Regions from separate parts of the Homo sapiens genome. Here region 1 is linked to region 2. Evidence: promoter capture Hi-C in human tissues and cell types (Jung and others, 2019). All regions are on one chromosome and are shown on one strand. The core of a region is centred on a gene start or on the middle of the fragment in contact, and the rest is flanking DNA. Distances in the headings are between cores, read along the strand shown. Region 1 holds the start of C11orf24 (chromosome 11 open reading frame 24). Region 2 holds the start of RCE1 (Ras converting CAAX endopeptidase 1).

Region 1 (4,141 bases), core at 1,298-3,797, 1.4 Mb before region 2:
AATGGACACTAGGTTTCAGGTGACCAAAGATGCTATCAGAGAATATGACTTTCTCATAGGAGAGAATGAGTTTCCCGGTATGTTGGACCATCTCAGCCAGATATTTCTGTGTCAGAAACCCATCAGTAACACTCTAGACTGGAGATCAGCAAATAGATTCTGTAAAGGGCCAGAGAGTAAATATTTTAGGACTTGTGAGCCATATAGTCTCTACAACTAGTCGACTGTGCCCTTTTATCATCAGATAATACCTAATGAAGAGGCATGACTCTGTTCCAATAGAAATTTAAGAAAGCAGATGGGCTGGGCGCGGTGGCTCACGCCTGTAATCCCAACACTTTGGGAGTCCAAGGCGGGCGGATCACTAGGTCAGGAGATCAAGACCATCCTGGCTAACATGGTGAAACCCCGTCTCTACTAAAAATACAAAAAATTAGCTGGGCGTGGTGGCGGGCGCCTGTAGTCCCAGCTACTCGGGAGGCTGAGGCAGAAGAACGGCGTGAACCCGTGAGGCGGGGCTTACAGTGAGCCGAGATGGCGCCACTGCACTCCAGCCTGGGCGACAGAGCAAGACTCCGTGTCTAAAAAAAAAAAAAAAAAGCAAGCAGATGGAGGTCTAGCTGCCCAGCTGCTCTAGAGGAGAGGCTGTGTCTTATGTTTGTAATTTCAGCCCCAGCAGTAAAAATTGTCCCTATGTTGCCAAAGAGGAAATGAAAACAGAGTCACAGTCATTGATTTTTTTTTTTTTTTTTTTTTTTTTTTTTAGAAGGAGTCTCGCTCTGTCGCCCAGGCTGGAGTGCAGTGGTGAGATCTCGGCTCACTGAAGCCTCCCCCTCCCAAGTTCAAGCAATTTTCCTGTCTCAGACTCCCGAGTAGCTGGGAATACAGGCACACGCCACCACGCCTGGCTAATTTTTATATTTTTAGTAGAGACGGGTTTCACCATATCGGTCAGGCTGGTCTCAAACTCCTGACCTCAGGTGATCCGCCCGCCTTGGCCTCCCAAAATGTTGGGATTACAGGCGTGAGCCACCGCGCCCAGCCCAGTCATTGATTTTTGAAAAGGGCAGGCAAAGAACTAAAATCTGCCTGCCGATTGTATATTTTCACTTCTGGAGTGAGCCTCAATACTGTACTTCATGTTAGATCCGAACTAGTTGGAAAAATTAAAGCAAATACATAGTGAAAGGATCTGATCTTCACATGATCCAACCGGCGTTGGGTCTCAGCAAACCCAACTTTGCAGGTTAAATTCCACACATGAACTGTGGTTGAACTGGGGATGGTGGTGGTGACATCAAATCGCATTTCAGGTGCTCCCAGAGCTCGGAGTGGATGGTAGATCCTGTCTTTGCCCAATCTCAGCTTTCTGTGTCTCTTAGCTTCCTAGCCGAAGACCCCAAGGCAGGTTATAAAACTGGAAATAAAGTCTTGGTTTGCTCCTGTGAAATCATCCTTCGCAGACAGGTTTTGGTTTGGACCGGGGGATGCCTGAGGGTCTTATACAGACTGGGATTCAGTCACAGAACTACTAACTTGCAAAGCCTATTTCTTTCTTTCTTTTTTTTTTTTGGAGACAGAGTCTCGCTCTGTCGCCCAGGCTGGAGTGCAGTGGCACGATCTCTGCTCACTTCAACCTCCACCTCCCAGGTTCAAGCAATTCTCCTGCCTCAGCCTCCCGAGTAGCTGGGACTACAGGCGCACGCCACCACGCCCGGCTAATTTTTTGTATTTTAGTAGACACAGGGTTTCACCATGTTGCCCAGGCTGGTCTCGAACTCCTGAGCTCAGATAATCCGCCCGTCTCGGCCTCCCAAAGTGCTAGGATTACAGGCAAGAGCCACCGCGCCTGGCCTGCAAAGCCTATTTCTAACCAAAGTCAAGTCCCACACACTTGCCTCTAAATTGCGTTTTGCTCCTTTGTTATCCCAGGTTTTACAATTACAGAGCACTTGATGAGCCTGTTTCCACGTCTGTAAAATGAGGCGAAGTTCTTCACTGTGCTATTGCAGAATTAAGCCACTGGCTCTATAGGCAAAGTGCTTAGCACGGGCGTGGCACGCTGCGGGTGCACAGAAACGCTCGCTGCCACCCCACCCTTAACTACCGGGCACCCCAGCGCCCCGCCAGGGGCTGAAGAAACGTGGGAGGAAGCGGAGGAACGCGAAGGGCGTGTGCCCGCGAAAGGTCTCACGAGGCGTTTCGAGGTCGCCTCTTCAGGCTCGGCTGCCGACAAGGTGCCTCTGAGCTCACCCAGCCCAACCCGCGCACCCCGGGACCCCAAGACGGCAGCGGGCACAGCTGGGCAGCAGAGACCCGGGAACACCCACTTCCGCCACAGACCTGCTCAAAATAGCTCCTTCTGGCAGCGCGCAAGAAGTGGCCCGAGCCGGCCCCGGGGAGGCGGGGCCTGAGAGCAGACAACCCCCCCACTTCCGGCTCGCCTCCGTTCGCCACAGGCCCCGCCGCAGCCGCTCTTCGCCCCGGCCAGCAGGCCCGCCCCGCCCTCCGTGACGTCATTTCCGGCGTTTGGGCGGGGCCCGGGCAGGGCGCGCTGCCCGGAGCTGCCTGGGTTGCGCTGCCGGCCACGTCCCCGCGCCGGGCCTCAGGCTCCTTCCTACTGTCCGAGGGCCACCAGGCCGCCGGGGGCCTGCTGCGCCCGGGTAAGGGGCTCGCACTGCCGTCCGGGTAGCTGCTGTCAGGGCTCCCTGACTGGCTTGGGACTGAGAGACAGAGGTTGGGGGGCAGGAGGAGGGTTGGATGGGGGCACGAGGGGCAGTGGGAGAGTGAGTGGGGCTGAGAGAGGCAGGAGGAACGGGACAGGAGGAGCGGCGGATGGGGCACGCACAGAGTGCAAGACGCTGAGCAATGCAGGTACTGAAGAAGTCAACTGGGGGCCGAGCATGGCTGGGGGCCCAAGAGACAGGAGGAGGGAGGAGGGCCGAAGGGGGCCCAGACTGGAGAAGAGGCCGGCTTGTCCCATTGTGGGAGCAGAATGGGGACACTCTGGAAGGGGGCCGAATTTGTCCTGGGGTCTTTCCCGGGCAAGCCCAGGACGGGACTGGACCCCAAGAAGTGTCGCTCTTACTTGAGTGACACAGACCTATCCCCCAGACCCTCTCTCTACCTGGGTGGAGGTTGTGCATTGCCCCAGATTCCCTCCCCTGCCCATCTGTCTCCCTGCCTGCTTCCCCCGTGCGAGTCACTTAGTAGCCCCCGTGTGGCTGCTTAGCATGTTGACTTAATCGTTAGGCTGATAGGAGGAATCGGCCTCCACACGCATGGTTTGCCACCAGAAATAATCATCGTGCTTAGAAATCTGACTGTAATAACTTGCAGCTATCCCTCGCCCCAGGAAAATCTCTAACATTTCGATAAAATCAGCTAGGAAAATCTTTAAAATACAGATGTTTCCATTTATACAGTGGATCTGCCTAATGGACAAAGGAATGTCAGAGCTACCCACGTTCTTAGCAAAAACTAGGCCCTAGTATTTAGCTGTGTTACCAAAACTTCCAGAAACCTGGAAGCAAGCAAGGTAGTTAATGTAATATAATAAATGTCCAATGTTCTAGGTTCCCGTCTGCCACAGAGTCACATCCTTTGGACTACAGGACAATGTCTATATACACAAAGCCATAAGTCTGTGTTCCTTGGGCTTCTGCTACCAAAGTTCAGCCAGGTGACGTGTCAGGATTAGGTACCTGCAGTTTGCCCTGTATTTGTGTTTGCAGTTCCTACTCCTTGGTATCTGTAGCTTGCCTAACTTGGTGTGGGGGCCTGGCCATGTTGCGGCTGAGTGAGTCTTAATAGCCTGATAGAATGTGGGGGTAACAGCTGTAGTCCTTTACCAAGCTTCAGGATTGGTCTTTGGAACCTCTCTATGCCAGAAAAAAAGAATTAAGTTATTTCTTTCCCTTTTTTTTTTTTTTTAAGAGATGGGGTCTCACTATGTTGCCCAGGCTGAACTCAAACTTCTGGGCTTGTAATCCTCCCACCTCAGCCTCCTGAGTGTCTGGGATTACAGGCATGCAGCACCACGCCTGGAGTCCAGTTTTGTGTAACTTGCATAAAGTGCGCCACATATAACAAGCCAAGGTTCGGAACACAAGAATTCAGACAAGATGCCTTGGGAGGCATC
Region 2 (4,086 bases), core at 201-2,700:
CAGCGGGCCCAGGAGCGGGGGGCTGCAGAGGGAATTCAGGACAAGCTGTGAGTGACGGGCTGTCAGACAGTGAGACCCCAGAGGCTCCAAGGGCTCCTCTCCCACAACTTTACCCTGGCCAAACTCAGGTTAGGCATCAATACTGCTGAGGACGGGGGTGTGGACCCAACATAAACCCAATGTCTTGAGATGACCTGAATGGAAGGCATTAGCTGAGGCAAGGGCATCCTGGAAGTAAACTCTGGAGACACCAAAATTTAAGCAAGACTAGCTCTGGTTGGGGAAGCAGGGGACAGTGCTCTCTGATCCACACCAAATACTGCTGGGGGTTCCCAGGGAACTCCTTGGACGTTGGCAATCAACCCTTAGAGGCCACCTAGCTCTATGTTTCCATTTTACTGATGAGAAAACACACCCAGAGAGATGACATTTCACGTGTCCAGATCACACCCTGAGCCCGCTGACTCCCTGCCCCAATGTCCTGGACTGCCTGTGCCTACTTTTCCCTTCAGCCTTTAAGACTCACCCAGGACAACCTTCAGCCCATCTGCCAGGTCACAAGGGCAATCCATAGAGAGCTGCATCAGTGGGCCCAGGAAAAGAATCTGAGGGCAAGAAAACACTTTCACCATAACCCACCGCTTTTGCCCAGACCTTTGCCCATGCTCCCTGAGACTCCAAGCTTGAAATCCTCTCCAGCCACGATTTCCAGACCATGCATACCGGAGGACCCTGGGGCCATCTCAAAAGTCCTGTCTCCCATCAACCAAAAACCAAAAACAAGAGTCCACGGCACTGCCCATCAGGCTGATAACAAAGACCAGAAGAAAAAATACAGCAGGAGCACTCACCATGGTCAGCAACAGGGGCAGCAGCGCCGCTGGGAAAATGCCCTCCAGCCTGAAGCCCATCAGGGTGAGCAGGGATGTGCCTGGCTGAGCCACAGGAAAGGGGGCATCAGTTTTGCTTCCTCCCCTAAAGACCCCTGAGCTCTCACCGCCGTTGCCCTTTGCCCCGCCTCCTTCGCACCTGGATGCCTGTGAGTTCCCTCCAGAGCAGCACGCACAGGGGTGAGAGACTGGACACCACCAGGACGCTGGTGAAGCGTCGCTTGATGACCGCGGGATGGTCCCTACGGAGGGGACAGTAAGTTCAGGGGGCCCGCGGCTGCCCATGAGCACGGACCCGCCCCCGGCTCGCCCAAGCTCCGCCCGCAGGGCGCGGATTCCGGTCGCGCGCAGCCCCCGCACCTGGGCAGTTCGCTCTTCCAGACGTAGAGGCTGCCCACGTAGGAGCAGGCGAGGCTGAGGCAGGAGAACACTGACACCCAGCAGCACAGCCCGGGGCCCAGGCCGCCCAGCGCCGCCGACTCGGGCGGCCGCTCCGGCCGCGACACCGACAGCAGTCGCAGCCCATCCCCGCCCAGCGCCGCCATTGCGCCCTGACCCGCGGCGCGCACCAGTGACGCAGTCCCAGGGAGGTGTGGGTGACGTCAGGCCGCGGCGCGGCTCCACGCCCCGCCCCGCCCCGCCCGGGCCCGACGCGGAAGCAGACGCGGAAGAGGACTTGGTGAGCGCGCGGCAGCTTTATTAAACCACGGGATAACGGCTGCCCGCAGCCTCCGGATCGGTGGGCGCTTGCGGAAGGGGACCCGGCTCAGGGCCCAGGGCTGGGACTCAGCCACTCTGACAGGTTGGAGACCTCCTGCAGCCACAGCACGTCCTGCGGGAACAAGGGGGCCCGGGGTGAGGACCTCTCAGCAGCGGCCCGTGGCCTGCACCTCCTGCTGAGCCCTTCCCTGCGCGGCCCTCGCCCAGTTACCTCCAGGCGGCTTCCGAGGCTCGCCCTGCCCGGCGCCAGGGCCCTGCCGTGAGCCTCGCGGTGCTCCCTTCCTCTAGGAGTGAGGGGGGCCGCGGTGGCTTCCGGGCGGCGCGGGGCGGCCTCTGACGGGCTCGGGGCCCTGGCAGAGCGCAGAGCTCGCATCTCCTCTATGCGGGGGCTGCCCCTCTTGAGCCTCTTGTTTTCTGCTTGCCCGCTGGTATCTAGGAGAAAAACAAGCCTCTTCATCTTACTTTCATGGCCCTGTGCTAGGAGCACCCTTGGCCAAGGGGAAGCCTGGGAGAACGGGCGCCGAGGGGCTCTTCCCACCGCATCCCTGTCAGCAGGTCCCATCCACACCAAAACCCTGCAGCTGTGGGCGCTTCTGGAGCAGCCCGAGGCTGCAGAGACGTTTCAGGGTCTCCCTATTCTCTCACCCAGGCGGGAGATTGTCCCGAGCCCTCACTTGGGGGACTCAGGCCGCTCAGTAACTTTCTGTATAGATTCTTCCTGGAGTCTGCACTGACAAGCTCCCCTCCCTGCCAGCCTCTGTCCCCCCTCACCTTTCTGGCCTCAGTTCTGTCTCCCTTTGTTGCTCACGTTGCATTGAGCAGTGCCCATAGGCAGCTTTCCTACTCTTAACTGATTCATTTGTCAAATTAAAGCGAGTTTAGATGGATAGATTCTTCCCCAGCAGGTCTTGGGGATGCAGATCAATGAGCTTTTCCCTGAGAGAAGCTCACAGATGCTAGGAGGGGATGCAGACCTGTGTACAAAGCCCAGGGTTAGAATAGAGAAGGAAGCCGACCACCTCTGGATGTGAAGAAGGGTTTCCATGAGGAGATACCTGAGCTGACCTTTTGTTTTTTTGAGACAAGGTCTTGCTCTGTTGCCCAGGCTGGAGTGCAGTGGCTCAGTCCTGGCTCACTGCAGCCTCGACCTCCTGGGCTCAAGCGATCCTACTGCCTCAGCTTCAGCTTCCAGAGTACCAGGAACCACAGGCGCATGCCACCACACCGGCTAATTTTTTTTACTTGTAGAGACAGGGGTCTCACCGTGTTGCCCAGGCTAGTCTCAAGCTGTCCTCCCGCCCCAGCTCCCCAAAGTGACGGTATTACAGGCATAAGTCACCACTCCTGCCCCAGAGCTGGGTTTTGAAGGATGAAGAGTGATATGCCAGACAAGGGAGAGAAAGGGAATTTCTTGCTGAAAGTTAACACAAACCTTATGCAAAGGCATAAAACAACTTCCTATGTAAATTTTTACTTTTTAAAGATGAGGTCTCGCCTGTCACCTAGGCTGGAGTGCAGTGGCGTGATTGTAGCTCACTGCAGCTTTGAACTCCCGGCCTCATCCTCTCGAGTAACTGGGACTAAAGGCACACACCACCTTGCCTGGCTAGAAACAGATTTTCATCTGTAGAAGACAGGAAGCCAATAAAGAGTTTTAAGCACTGGTGAAATATATTGGTAATTTTGTACTTCAGAAAGATCGTTCTTTCAAAGGTGTGGCTTAGATCAAACTAGAGACAGGAAGACCTTAAGAGCCCAATAACAAGTAAAGACAGTGGAGATAGAGGCGTCACCAGGAATCAGAAGTGTTCATCAGGCCTAAGTGATAGGCCTTTGTGAGCGCCTGGATGTGGGAGAGGCCTCTTGGCCGGGCGCGGTGGCTCATGCCTGTAATCCCAGCACTTTGGGGGGCCGAGGCGGGCAGATCACGAGGTCAGGAGATTGAGACCAGCTTGGCCAACATGGTGAAACCCCGTCTCTACTAAAAATACAAAAATTAGCTGGGCATGGTGGTGGGCGCCTGTAATCCCAACTACTCAGAGGCTGAGGCAAGAGAATCACTTGAACTTGGGAGGCAGGGAGGTTGCAGTGAGCCGAGATCACGCCACTGCACTCCAGTCTGGGCAACAGAGGGAGACTCTGTCTCAAAAAAAAAAAAAAAAAAAAAAAATGAGAGGCCTCTTGAATGAATCCAAGATTTCAGATGTGATAAATTGGATTAATCATGAAACAGACTAAAAGTCTCTTTAGTCAGGAGAGAGGAAACTGAGGTACCAATGGGACCTCCACGAGGAGCTGCCTAGTGAGCAAATGAATCTCCCAGCTGGCACTCAGCAGAGGCCTTGGCTGGTCATACCAATTTGAGAGTCTTGAGCCCAGAGGCAGTGGTCAACAGTTGGGATGGAAGATAGCTGGGTGGGAGAGCAGGATGAGCACTATTTAGGCATGACCAGAGGAAAGTAGATGAAGAGAAAAG

The links. The method cuts DNA at HindIII sites, captures the fragments that hold promoters and counts their contacts. A contact is called where the count stands out against the background at its distance.
Region 1: a contact is called between the fragment with the promoter of C11orf24 here and the fragment with the promoter of RCE1 in region 2, in 1 of the 25 tissues and cell types used here (spleen).

The regions. Positions count from the first base shown.
Region 1 is chr11:68,270,379-68,274,519 of GRCh38, reverse strand. It overlaps C11orf24 (chromosome 11 open reading frame 24), which reads left to right and starts at 2,547. Exons shown (of 4, transcript NM_022338.4): 1 at 2,547-2,663. LOC105369363 (a long non-coding RNA gene) reads right to left here and starts at 2,418. Exons shown (of 3, transcript XR_950248.3): 1 at 2,344-2,418. RefSeq lists silencers at 411-470, 2,350-2,749 and an enhancer at 1,584-2,438. The HindIII fragment of the contact is 13,528 bases long and covers 1-4,141 here.
Region 2 is chr11:66,840,805-66,844,890 of GRCh38, reverse strand. RCE1 (Ras converting CAAX endopeptidase 1) reads right to left here and starts at 1,450. Exons shown (of 8, transcript NM_005133.3): 1 at 1,251-1,450; 2 at 1,030-1,132; 3 at 852-935; 4 at 527-605; 5 at 1-22. The coding sequence starts at 1,435. TOP6BL (TOP6B like initiator of meiotic double strand breaks) reads right to left here. Exons shown (of 15, transcript NM_001302084.2): 14 at 1,822-2,042; 15 at 1,375-1,722. The coding sequence ends at 1,657. RefSeq lists an enhancer at 873-1,579 and silencers at 1,220-1,659, 1,770-1,909, 3,127-3,253. The HindIII fragment of the contact is 26,172 bases long and covers 1-4,086 here.